Linked DNA regions of Homo sapiens: region 2 is linked to region 1. Evidence: promoter capture Hi-C in human tissues and cell types (Jung and others, 2019). All regions are on one chromosome and are shown on one strand. The core of a region is centred on a gene start or on the middle of the fragment in contact, and the rest is flanking DNA. Distances in the headings are between cores, read along the strand shown.

What was found. The method cuts DNA at HindIII sites, captures the fragments that hold promoters and counts their contacts. A contact is called where the count stands out against the background at its distance.
Region 2: the fragment with the promoter of UBE2I here is called in contact with the fragment with the promoter of CLCN7 in region 1 in 1 of the 25 tissues and cell types used here (IMR-90 fibroblasts).

The regions. Positions count from the first base shown.
Region 1 is chr16:1,470,233-1,476,757 of GRCh38, forward strand. It overlaps CLCN7 (chloride voltage-gated channel 7), which reads right to left and starts at 4,796. Exons shown (of 25, transcript NM_001287.6): 1 at 4,602-4,796. The coding sequence starts at 4,742. RefSeq lists silencers at 4,539-4,748, 4,869-5,218 and an enhancer at 4,756-5,299. The HindIII fragment of the contact is 17,994 bases long and covers 1-6,525 here.
Region 2 is chr16:1,305,127-1,311,708 of GRCh38, forward strand. It overlaps UBE2I (ubiquitin conjugating enzyme E2 I), which reads left to right and starts at 4,510. Exons shown (of 7, transcript NM_003345.5): 1 at 4,510-4,647. RefSeq lists silencers at 3,579-3,868, 4,359-4,658, 4,859-5,048 and enhancers at 4,079-4,318, 5,020-5,631. The HindIII fragment of the contact is 23,762 bases long and covers 1-6,582 here.

The DNA.
Region 1 (6,525 bases), core at 3,546-6,045:
ATAATCCTTCCGCCTTGGCCTCTCAAGTAGCTGGTATGAGAGGCGTGCACCACCATGCCTGGCTCAAAATGGTAAATTTATGGTATGTGTTCTTTACCACAGTTTTTTTTAAAACTTAAAGCAGGATTAAAGACCATTTGCTGTTCTGCTCGGCCTGTGTTGCGTCCTAACATTCAGCAGGCCTCTGCCAGGACCAGGCTAGACGCTAGGCACAGAGGATACAGCAGCTGCCCCGCGGGGGGATGGGGGTTACAGTCAAAGGAAACAAGGTGACACACAAAGGCCACAGAGACCAAGGAGAGGCCTTTGCTGTCCATGCAGTGTCCCCATGGCGTTAAGGCAGAGACCTAAAGCAAGACAGACACTGAACAGCAATGCTGGAGGGCAGGGAAGGGCAGGGGACAGCAGGGGAACCCTCCCAGGCTGGCAGAGGACTTCCTGGAGGCCAGAAAAGAACCAAGGGGCACTTCCTCAAGTACAGCAGAGCTCAAGGGGCCACTGGCGACGACCCCAGACCCTCCCCCGCAGCCTTGCTGCGCCCACAGTTCTTTCTCAGGCTGCGGTCTGTGGCTCCGGGTGCCCAGGCAGGACACAGTCCCACACTAACCCAGACCCCTGCCCTGCCAAGGTCTTATGTGGAGTGTCCCAACATGAGTTCCCAGGGATGTCCTGCAAATACCCACCTCCCCTCACTGCCCCCTGAGACCCAAGTGTTTCTGGCTCCAGCCGCTTTCCCTCTCAGTTCTCAAGGAGTTCTGCTTCCTGCCGCCCACACACGGCCAGGGCTGGCTGACCTCACCCTCGCCCTGTCCCAACACCACCAGATGAGCAGTGACTGGCTTGGTCAATTCACCACTACACCACACAAAGCAAGACCGGCCTGAGAACAGGAACAGCAACCCACAGGCAGCTCTGAAGGGCCTGGGCTTTCAGCGGGCACCCAGCCTCCAACAAGCCACTCCACAGTCTGCCCTGCCCAGGGCAGCCACCTCATAGTGTTTGGCCAGCTGTGCCCACGCTGAGGTGGCAACGACACCACCAGCCAACCTGAAAATCCTGCAACAAACCCTAAAGAGCCTGGAGGCAGCTAGGACCAGTTCTCATGTTCACTGGAACAGTCCCGTCAGCAGGGGATGGCCTGGGTTGATATTTTAGCTCAAAACAGCTCTGGAGGCCTTGAACCCAAGGGCAGCTTACAGTACCCCGTCTGTGGCCACACTGGGGTGCGCCTGAGCCTAACTGTGAGCTGTGCCCACCAGTCAGAGCAGACCCTCCCCCAGAAAAGCAGCACCAAGAAATCCAGTAGCTACTCAGGAAGTTGGACAGGAAAGTCACAACGAACACGAATCCCTCTTGTGTTGCTGGTTTTAACACGACCGGGCACGACTCACGTTTCTTCAGAGCGTAGTTTGTGACAGGCACCGTGCTCAGCGCTATGCATGCGTTAACTTTTTCGCAGACGGGAAAACTGGGCAACAGGGAGGCTACAGGCCTTGCAGGAGGCCATCGGCGAGTCCGATGCTCAGAGCACAAACGCCTGGCCTAAGAGGTGGTGTCTTGGCCTCTAGACTCCGCCTCTCCAGTCTGTCTGCAGGGGAAGGCTGGGGCCCTTCAGGAATGGGGTCCTAGCTTCCCATGGGCTCCCCTAGAGATGAGCCAAATTCAAAGCCTGTTCATGTGCGCAGCAGGGCTGACCTCCAGGCTCCACAGCGCATCCCAAACACACACTCCCTCTGTCCTTTCCCCCCGTCCGCCTGCCTGAAGATCTTGTGCTCTTCAAGCCCAAGCCTTGTGACTGCTCCTGCCCCAGGGGCCCTGCAGACCATCCGCACAGGGCACTGGGCCTGTCTCCAGCAGGAAGGAAGCAGCTTTATGCGCCTGCGTCCCAGGCAGCCACAGAGCAAGTGCACGATAAACTATTTTTTAAATTGCTTGTAAGCAGAGTATCCGCTGTTATTAAATGCAAACAAACAAATAAGCTTACAATGACTTTTAAGGGAATAGTTTTTTTATTTTTATTTTTGAGATGGAGTTTTGTTCTTGTTGCCCAGGCAATGGCGTGATCTCGGCTCAGTGCAACCTCTGCCTCCTGGGTTCAAGCGATTCTCCTGCCTCAGCCTCCTGACTAGCTAGGATTACAGGCGCTCACCACTATACTCGGCTAATTTTTCTATTTTTAGTAGACATGGGGTTTCACCATGTTGGCCAGGCTGGTCTCGAACTCCTGACCTCAGGTGATCCACCTGCCTCGGCCTCCCAAAGTGCTGGGATTACAGGCATGAGCCACCGTGCACAGCCGGGAATACTTTCTAAGGTTAAGAGATCAACAGATTATTTCCCAAAAAATCAACTCTTCTATTTGCAAAGACAGACAGGAAACCCCAAGCACATTCAGTCCCAAGAGAAACTCAAATTCAACCTCCATCAAGGTTCCTAATCTTTACCTTTCAGCCCTTAAAGTTGGGTTTATTCCTTCTACCTTGTGAACTTCAGATTTCTTTAATTAAAAAAATTTTTTTTAAATTTTTTGAGATAGGTTCTCAAACTCCAGCCTGGGCAAAAGAGTGACAAACTACCTCGGAAAAAAAAAAAAAAAAGCACCTCACTGCAGCTTCAACCTCCTGGGCTCATGCGACTCCTCTGCCTCAGCCTCCCGAGCCAGTAGCTGGGACTACAGATGCATATCACCACACCTGGCTAATTTTGTTTTTTTTTTTTTGAGACAGGGTTTCACTATTTTGCCCAGGCTGGTCTTGAACTTCTGGGCTCAAGTGATCCTCCCCTACCTTGGCCTCCCAAAGTGCTAGGATTACAGGCATGAGCCACCACACCTGGCCTTTCTTTTAAAACAGAAACACACACACACACACACAGAGGCATACACATACACACACAGGCATACACACAAATAACTAATCACCCATGGCCCCATCACTTCAAATTAACCCCTTCAGATCACTTTTCATGCAGACTACAGCACGGAGAGCAGGAGGGCCCACTTCAAAGGGAGCTGAGCTGCTGCTTCTTATCAGCAAAAGGCAGACTATGACCTTCTTTGTCTGGTGCGTTTCTAAGGAATTGGGAAAACCTAAATGTAGGTTCTATGGAAACAGGCTGATTTTCGTGTCCTTCCTAAACTTTTTTTTTTTTTTTTTTTTTTTTGAGACGGAGTCTCGCTCTGCCCAGGCTGGAGTGCAGTAGCGCCATCTCCGCTCACTGTAAGCTCCGCCTCCCGGGTTCAATTGATTCTCCTGCCTCAGCCTCCCGAGTAGCTGGGACTACAGGCGCCCGCCACCACGCCTGGCTAATTTTTTGTATTTTTAGTAGAGACGGGGTTTCACCATATTAGCCAGGATGGTCTCAATCTCCTGACCTCATGATCCACCCGCCTCGGCCTCCCAAAGTGCTGGGATTACAGATGTGAGCCACCGTGCCCTGCCGTCCTTCCTAATCTTTAAGCACAAGACAAGTGTTTAAAGGACTAGACAAGAGAAAATGTAAAGAATAACTGCAAAGCAGATTAAGACCCATCAACAAAACGGTCCATTAACTCAAAAGTAACACAATACGGCCAGGCGCAGTGGCTCACGCCTGTAATCCCAGCACTTTGGGAGGCTGAGGTGCGGGGGATCACGTGAGGTCGGGAGTTCGAGGCCAGCCTGACCAACACGGAGGAACCCCGTCTCTACTAAAAATACAAAATTAGCCGGGCGCGGTGGCGCACGCCTGTAATTCCAGCTACTCAGGAGGCTGAGGCAGGAGAGTCACTTAAACTCGGGAGGTGGGGGTTGCAGTGAGCCGAGATCGCGCCATTGCACTCCAGCCTGGGCAACTACAGTGAAACTCCGTCTCAAAAAAAAAAAAATATTAAGACAATACACAGACAGGGAAACAAATGTACCCGCAACGGTTCTCCAGACCTTAACACTGCTCAGACGCACGCTGCAGGGTGACATGCGGAACGCATTCCAACCTCTGACTTGCTGCTTATTGTGTTTGCCTGCACATTGCAAATTCAACTCGGTGCGAAGGGAGACTGAGTACAAATACTCGTCACTCCCAAGATCACCTGAAAGTCGGGACTGATCCCCACACAGAAAGATGGCAGATAAAGGCGCTCAGTCATTCTCACTGAAAGACAGTGACCCGGCTGCAATCTTAACTGTTTCCATCTCCCAGGGGGTCAAAAACGCAAACAAAATTAGTTGCTCGTGTAGGATGACAATTTTTAAAAGTCACCTGAACAGAAAGCCACTTGCACCCCTTTAGGGCCAGTCTGGGGGACACCGGAGGGAATGAACGTGCGCCACGGCTGCCCCGGCGCCCCTCAGCGCCCCACATTCCGCGGGGTCTGGCGAGCTCCGCCTCGCCCACGCAGCCCTCCCGGCCACCGAGCCCGGCGCGGCCTCCGAAGACTCCAGACCCCAGGCGCCCCCGCCAGCCCGGCCCCGCCGAGGAGCCCCGGGGCGCGTTCCCGAGTCCACCGCGCCTCGGTCGCCTCCAGGACCGAGACACGCGGCGCCGCCAGAAGGCTCACGAGGGCGCGGGCTGCGGGGCGCACGAGGGCTCAGTTTCCCCGCCTGCGCCCTGCCCGGCCTCACCTGGCGCGCAGCCCCAGGCCCAGCCCCGTTCAGCAGCGGCGTCCCCCCGCCGGGCCGCGCCGTCCTCCGCAGCAGCGGCGCCGCCTCCTCGTCGTCCCGGTCCCGGCCGGACCAGGACACCTTCTTAGAGACGTTGGCCATGGCCCGCCGCGGAGCGACACCGGCCGGGAAGCGCCGGCTGCCCCCGTGTTTGTTCTCGTGACCCGCGCCGGCGGCCACGTGACGCGCGACGGGGCCACGTGATGAGCGACGGCGACCATGTGACCTGCAACGGCAACCACCGAGGCCCGGTCGCGCGGGGGCTCCTGGGAGCCGCGCTCCCGGCGGGTCGTGGCGCCGCCCGCCCTAGAGAATCGCCGCGGCCCTGAGGACCCCGTTCTGCCCACGCGACTGCAAAGGCGGCCCCGTTGGGCTGAGCGCCGAGTGCTTGGGAGGCGAATGGCCGCCCCCGGGACCTCGGGCCCGGGAGTCGGGGCGAGGGAAGCGCCCGGGGCCTGAGGGCAGGAGCCGGCTGGAGGGGCTCCCCCAGGCCCGGTCGCCCGCGCCGATCGTGACGGAGCCGCGGTGGGGAAGGGAGGAGGGAGGCAGGGGCGAGGGCAGGCCTTTCCTTGCCATAGGCGGCGGCTAAAGACGTGAAGGATGAAATTAGAAGTCCCGAAGCATGCATCCGCCCTCGCAGTAGGCACTCGGGCGAGGGTCGGAGTGGAGGCTTCCTCCAGGCAGCCCCAGAGGGTCCTCCCGCCTAATGAGAAAAGAACAGAAGGCGAGTCCTCTTCAACGATCAGGCCCCAGAGACAGTACAGGAGGGTCGCCTCTGGAAACTGCCGGCTACTACGCAGATAGCTGTGAATTAGCCAAATAGCCGCCCGGACCCTGTACCCGCACCAGGGCACAGCCCATCACTAATCAATGGTATTTCCATAAACCAAAGAGAATTCTTGACAGCTTTACATCAGCCCCCACCCTGTCCCCACCTTCTGGGTCATTTATTTATTTATTTTGAGACAGGGTCTCCTTCTGTCGCCCAGGCTGGAGTGCGGTGGTGCGGTCACAGCTCAGTGCAGCCTTGACCTCCTGGACTCAAGCCATCCTCCCGCCTCAGCCTCTGGAGTAACAGGGACCACAGGCCTGCACCACCACACCCGGCTAATTTTTGCTGTGGAGCTCACAGTGTGTTGCCCAGGCTGTTCTCAAACTTCTGACCTCAAGTGATCCTTCCACGTTAGCCTCTAGAGTAAACTCTTTATATTTTGTGCCTCATCCTCTTCCTTTTAAAAGGTCGATATTTTTATTATTGAGACGGAGTCTCACTCTGTCGCCCAGGTTGGAGTGCAGTGGCCCAATCTCGGCTCACTGCCTCCCGGGTTCATGCCTCAGCCTCCCGAGTAGCCGGGACTACAGGCGCCCGTCACCATGGCCGGCTAATTTTTTGTATTTTTAGTACAGATGGGGTTTCACTGTGTTAGCCAGGATGGTCTCGATCTCCTGACCTCGTGATCCACCCGCCTCGGCCTCCCAAAGTGCTGAGATTACAGGCGTGAGTCACGGTGCCCGGCCTTTTTTTAAATTATTATTATTATTTTTTTATTTTTGAGACACAGTCTCACTTTGTCACCCAGGCTGAAGTACAATGACAAGATCATAGCTCACTGCAGCCTTGACCTCTTGGGTTCAAGGGATCCTCCTTCCTCAGCCTCCTGAGTTGCTAGGACTCTTCGTATGAGCCACCATGCCCGGCCATGGTTGGCATTTCTTTTTTCTTTTTCCTTCTTTTTTTTTTTTTTTTTTGAGACGGAGTTTCACTCTTGTCACCCAAGCTGTAGTGCAATGGCGCTATCTTGGATCACTGCAACCTCCGCCTCCTGGGTTCAAATGATTCTTCTGCCTCAGCCTCCCGAGTAGCTGAGATTACAGGCACCCGCCA
Region 2 (6,582 bases), core at 3,260-5,759, 170 kb before region 1:
CAAAGTGCTGGGATTACAGGCGTGAGCCACTGCGCCCGGCCCTCCAGAGCCATTTTCTTATTGATGTAGGGATTTTCTATATCCCAGATTTTTTTGTTATTTTTTTGAGACGAAGCTCATTCTGTCCCCCAGGCTGGAGTGCAGTGGTGCAATCTCAGCTCACCGCAACCTTCGCCTGCCGGGTTCAAGCGATTCTTGTGCCTCAGCCTCCCCAGGAGCTGGAGTGGTGTGCACAACCATACCCAGCTAACTTTAGTATTTTTTAGTAGAGACGGGGTTTCACCATGTTGTCCAGGCTGGTCTCGAACTTCTGACCTCAAGTGATCTGCCCACCTCAGCTTCCCAAAGTGCTGGGATTACAGGCGTGAGCCACCGCGCCCAGCCTATTATCCTGGATAATAACTCCTTCTCAGATATGTGAATTTTTTTTTCTTTTTATTTTTAAATGAAGTCTCGTTCTGTTGCCCAAGCTGGAGTGCAGTGACGCCATCTCGGCTCACTGCAACCTCTGCCTCCCGTGTTCAGGAGATTCTCCTGCCTCAGCCTTCGAAGTAGCTGGAATTACAGGCGTGCACCACCACACCCAACTAATTTTTGCATTTTTAGTAGAGACAGGGTTTCACCATGTTGGGCAGGCTGGTCTCAAACTCCTGAGCTCAAGCGATCTGCCCTACTCAGCCTCCCAAAGTCCTGGGATTACCAGCGTGAGCCACCGCGCCTGGCCCGAGGCTGACTTTTGAGCTGGTTTTTGTGCGTGCTCCGGGGTAAGGGTCCACCTTCACTCTACTGCAGAGGCCCTTATTCCTCTGGGGGAATCGGCCCTCAGTGAAGAGGCCTCTGCTCTCAAACCCCTGTGCAGAGCCTGGCCCCAGCAGGCCCCGGAGGGGGCACCCAGGGCACTGGAGGTCCCGCCCTACCGCAGGCAGCTCTGCATCACACTTCCTGCTCCCCTCCCAAGGGGACCAGGGCAAAGGTGGGCGCGTGCCTGGCACAGTCAGCCACAAGCCTTGCCCAGGATCTTATAGTTACTGATTCAAACCCCCCACCCTCTCCAAGCCTCAGTTTCTCCTTTGTACCCAGGGAGCTGGACCCAACAAGTCCCCTCTCCTTGAAAACGTGTGCCAGGTGCAGGCTGCTCAAAGGACACTTGTGGGCTGAGGATGCACAACTGAGGGAGCCTCTTCCCTCCCCCACCTGCTCCATGCCCCTCACCCCCACCTGCTCCATGACCCTCACCCCTACCTGCTCCATGTCCCTCACCCTCACCTGCCACAGCCTCCCCAAACCCCAGCCCCTCCTGGCACTACTTCCCACCAGGACAGGAATTCTCTAGATGCCTGAGCCATGTCTCCTCAGTCCCTCACCACACACACACAGGGAACCAGGGCCTTGTCTTACTTCTCCTGTTCCACAACCTTCTATGGCTCCCATGGCCCACAGGTTCAGGCCCAGGCCCTCCCCAGCCACACACCACATCCAGTCAGTCTCCCCAAGCCCCACTCATGACAAGCCCCCCACCTCACCAGCCCTGCCCTCTCTGTGCCTGAGGCTGCAGCGGGATCCACCGAGGCCCGTGGCTGTCTTGCTTTTCTTCAGCCACGGCTTTTACTGGCTGACGCCTCCCCACACAGCCCTGTGCTGGCATCTTCGCCAGAAAGATGGCGTTGGAACCTTAGCCCATGTCAGGAAGCCAAAGGGCCATATCCCTCTGCCAGGCTTGCCCAGGGGGCTGGTTAAGAATGCAGATTTCAGCTGGGCGTGGTGGTCCACACCTGTAATCCCAGCACTTTGGGAGGCCGAGGTGGGCGGATCACTTGAAGTCAGGAGTTTGAGACCAGCCTAGCCAACATGGTGAAACCCCGTCTCTATTAAAAATACAAAAATTAGCCGGGTGTGGTGGTGCACGCCTGTAATCCCAGCTACTCGGGAGGCTGAGGCAGGAGGATCGCTTGAACTCAGGAGGTGGAGGTTGCAGTAAGCCAAGATGGCGCCACTGCACTCTAGCCTGGGCAACACAGTGAGACTCCATCTCACAAAAAAAAGGAAAAAAAAAAAGCAGATTCCCAGGACCTCAAGGCTGGGGGCCAGGACAGCAGGTGTCTAGACAGGCCACGGAGGCTCTGAGCCTGGGAGTTGCAGCCAGGCCAGGCCCCCGCTGGTCTTGGTGGGACAGGGCTGTGCATGGCTTCCAGGGACTGGATTCTGGGGGAGGCTGCCCCTGCTGCCCTGGACCCACATCCCCACGGCTGCGCCTCCCAGGCAGGCAGACCCAGGGTGTGTGGCTGCCCCTCCTGCTGCAGGTGCCTGACAGGGAAATGCCCGCTGGGGACCCTGTGGGAGGTGGTGGGGGAATGAGTGAGGGAGGGAGGGAGTGAATGAGTGAAGGAGGGAATGAGTGAGTGAGGGAGGGAATTAATGCATGAGTGAGGGAGGGAATGAATGAATGAGGGAGGAAGGGAATGAGTGAGGGAGGGAATGAATGAGTGAGGGAGGGAATGAGTGAGGGAGGGAATGAATGAGGGAGGGAATGAATGAATGAGGGAGAGAGGGAGGGAATGAGGGAGGGAGGCAATGAGTGAGGGATGGAATAAATGAGTAAGGGAGGGAATGAGTGAGGGAGGGAGGGAATGAATGAATGAGGGAGGGAGTGAATGAATGAGTGAGGGAGGAAGTGAATGAGGGAGGAAGGGAATGAGTGAGGGATGGAATGAATAAGGGAGAGAATCAGTGAGGGAGGGAGGGAATGAATGAGTGAGGGAGGGAATGAGTGAGGGAGGCAGGGAATGAATGAGGGAGGGTGGGAATGAATGAGGGAGGGAATGAATGAATGAGGGAGGGAATGAATGAATGAGGGAGGGAGGGAATGAGGGAGGGAGGGAATGAATGAATGAGGGAGGGAATGAACGAATGAGGGAGGGAATGAATGAGGGAGGAATGAGTAAGTGAGGGAGGGAATGAGTTTGTGAGAGTGGGAATGAGTGAGGGAGGGAGGGAATGAATGAATGAGAGAGGAAATGAGTGAGGGAGGGAATGAGTGAGGGAAGGAATGAATGAGTGATGGAGGGAATGAATGAATCAGTGAGGGAGGGAATCAGTGAGGGAGGGAATGAGTGAGTGAGGGAGGGAGGGAATGAATGAGAGAGGGAATGAGTGAGGGAGGGAAGGAATGAATGAGGGTGGGAATGAATGAATGAGGGCGGGAATGAATGAATGAGGGCGGGAATGAGTGAGAGTGAGAATGAGTGAGTGAGGGAGGGAATGAATGAGTGAGGGAGGGAATGAGTGAGGGAGGGAATGAGTGAGTGAGGGAGGGAATGAGTGAGGGAGGGAATGAGTGAGTGAGGGAGGGAATGAGTGAGTGGGAATGAATGAGTAAGTGAGGGAGGGAATGAGTGAGTGAGGGTGGCAATGAATGAGTAAGTGAGGGAGGGAATGCGTGAGAGAGGGAAGGAATGATTGAGTGATGGAGGGATCGAATGAATGAGGGAGGGAGGGAATTAGTGAGGGAGGGAGGGAATTAGTGAGTGAGGGAGGGAATGACGGAGTAGGGGAGGGAATGAATGAATGAGTGAGGGAGGGAATGAATGAATGTGGTCACTCCCCGCGGTCCCCAAGCACCCGGACACCGTGACCTTGGCTGCGGCCCCGCCGTCGGCGAAATGCGGGCGGGGGGGCCGGGAGAGCCCGGGGGCCAGCACGGTCGCGCGTTGGCGAACGGACTGTCCCGCGCGCTCGCGGGTCTGGGGGCCTCCCGACCCGGTCCTGCTTGTTGCGTGGGCGGGAGGGGGGACCGGAAGCGCCCCTCCCCCACGGGCTCGCCCCGCCCCCGCCGCTCGCGGTCCCCCACGTCCCGCCCGCGCCCCGGCCCAGGGCCAGCCCCCGGTTTAGGGAGCATCCACACTTCTCCTCCCGTCGGTCATGCTCGCATTCGGCCTTTTGTACGGGGTCAGCTCATTGGGCGGATGAGAAGGTGTCCCCGCCTACCGCCCCGAACTGGCCAATTGCAAGGGGTTTCACAGGGCGCTGAACTCGCGGGAGCGTCACCGTCCTGCGACGCTTCAGAGGATCCTTAGGCCTCAGTGGTCTTTGACCCCCGGCCCCAGGACCTGACCCCAAGGAAACCTCCGGGACCTGTGGCTGGAGAGGTGACCGCCAGGCATCCGGGGAGCCTTTGGAGATCTCGGCTTCCTTTTTCCCCCGCTGCTTGCCGGCGTGTCCTCGGGTGGACGCGGGCAGCCCGAAGGGGAGTTTACAGACGCTCCCTCACATCGGGGACGCGGCTCCTTTAAGGGCGTAGGTGTCCAGGGCGCCGCCTGACTGGAAAGTCGCCCCCCGGCCGGGCTCCTGGGGCGGACCCGGGGCGCGGGCGCGCGGCGGCGGGGCGCGGGCAACGGGGAGCGCTCGGCGGCGCGGGAGGCGCTCGGGGCCGGGCGGCAGGAGCGGCGCGCGAGGCAGGCGTGCAGAGGGCAGCCCCGCGTTAGGCCCCGCCCCGCGCGCCCCGCCCGCGCCAGGGTCCTCGGAGCTGCTCTGGCTGCGCGCGGAGCGGGCTCCGGAGGGAAGTCCCGAGACAAAGGGAAGCGCCGCCGCCGCCGCCCCGCTCGGTCCTCCACCTGTCCGCTACGCTCGCCGGGGCTGCGGCCGCCCGAGGTGAGCGCGTGCGGGGGCCGGGCCGGGGCCGCGGGGCGGGGGTCGGGCCGAGGCCTCTACTCCTGTTGGGCCCGGGCCCCCGACTGCCCCGCGCCCCGCCCCGCCGAGCCGGGCCCCGCGCCGCGGCCGAGCTTTCCGGGGAGCCCGAGAGGCCCCGCGCTCGGCGCCGGCTCGGTCCGCGCTGCTGGCGCCGCTGGGCTGCGGCCCGAGCGGCCGGGCCGCCGCAGGCCTTCGGGGCCGGGGCTCCCCCACTTCGCCCCCGAGGTGCGCCTGGCGCGGGGCCGGGGCAGCCACCTGCAGCCGGGGCCCCGCGAGGCCGCGCCTTCCTCCTGCGCGGGGAGCGGCTTCCGGGGTCACGGTCGCCCCGCGGACGGATAGGATGGGCCGCGGGGGGAGAGTCTTGGATTGCAACATCGCTGGCTCGCGGGGGTGGGGGCCGGCGAGCGGGCTTGTTTTCGGTGCCTTAAAACCAAAACAAGTGTAAGTTTTCTTGTGCCTCTGAAGATGCTCCGCTGGCGCTTGCTGGGGCCCTGAACGTGAGCGCCTCGCTGGAGGGGGAGTTTTATTCTGTTTTGGACATCTCTTTTTATCGGTTGAATAGTAGTTGGTTCTGGTAGTTAACGTGCGTAGGAGGAATGTAAGGGAATGATTAGTTGGGCTTGTGATCGTGGCCTGTAGTCACGCTTGAATCGCAGAATGAAGTGGTTTTGTTTGTATAATTGGAAGTTACGCTTAGTTTCTCTGTTTGCAAAGTGCCTGTCTTTGGGGAGTTCGGTTTGTTTCCTTTTACAGGACCTACCCCAAGTGTTTCTTGCTCTTCAAGAAACGTTGCCTTTGGGTAGAGAACCTATGCAACGGAAGACGGGACGGATCCTCAGTTTGCCCTGATTGCTCATTCAGAGAGGTCCGTTCCCTAGGCCACTGGGTGATTGCTGGTGTGCGCTTGTATGGTGTCTCAGGGTTTGGGATCTTGCTTCAGAAACATTCTCGGGGCCTGGGGCAGATCAGGTGCGGCCAGGTAAGCGTCTCCCGACTGCAGGTGCTTGGGTCTTGCAGAAGGGAATACCTCCCCAAGCCTGGGAGAGTTTGCATTTGGGTGCAGGAGGGCCTTTAAAGGCTTCTTGTGCCAGCCTGTCGTGGCGACCACCCGTTGTGGAGATCAGTGCGGTGGAGTTGTGGGAGGTGAGTGCTTTGCTCACCCTCAGCCAGGAAGTTGCTCTGAAGTCGGTGCTGTCAACCAGCAGAGCAAGGCGGTGATCCGAGAAGCTAAAGCTCAGCCGGTTGCGGGCGCCCAGCAGGAGGACAGAAGGCAGACTTTCGGGCCGCTCCTGGAGTGCCCGGCCCTGTCCCCGTTTCTGCAGTGTCTGGGCCTTGCCTGGCTCTAATAGATGAGGGTTGTTTTTGTCTTTGCATCATAAAAGTTTCTTGCTCTGAAGCGTTTAGTAACTACTAGCCGTTCACTAAGTGCCTATCTGTGAATTTGGAAGGGCAAATTCGATTTTCAGCGGAATTTTGAACGCTTGATCTGTGTTGTGATTACATTGTAACAGATTGGCCGCTTTCTCCAGAAGGCCAGTAGGAGGGGGTGCAGGGGGAGGGGCCTGGCTTCTGTCTGGGACACGGTGGGTGTGCACCTGTGGCTCCTTGCCCTGGCGGTGCAGTGCCTGTGAGACCACCCCGTGGTGCTGAGTGCTTTGGGGCAGGGGACACAGCAGCAGCAGCCAGGTCTTGGCAGGAGGTCTCGCAGGACCACCCCTCACGACTTCTCACACCTGAGACAGCAATAGCTAGGTGCTGGGACGGGGGCCTCTAGGCGGCTCTGTCCAGTCCTCAGCAGGAGGGCTGCCTGTGGCAGGGTCCCAGGCCCGTCTGGCCTCTCTGTGGCCTGGCCTTGCCTGGCTGTGAGGATAGCCTTGCCCATGGTCCTTCAGTGTC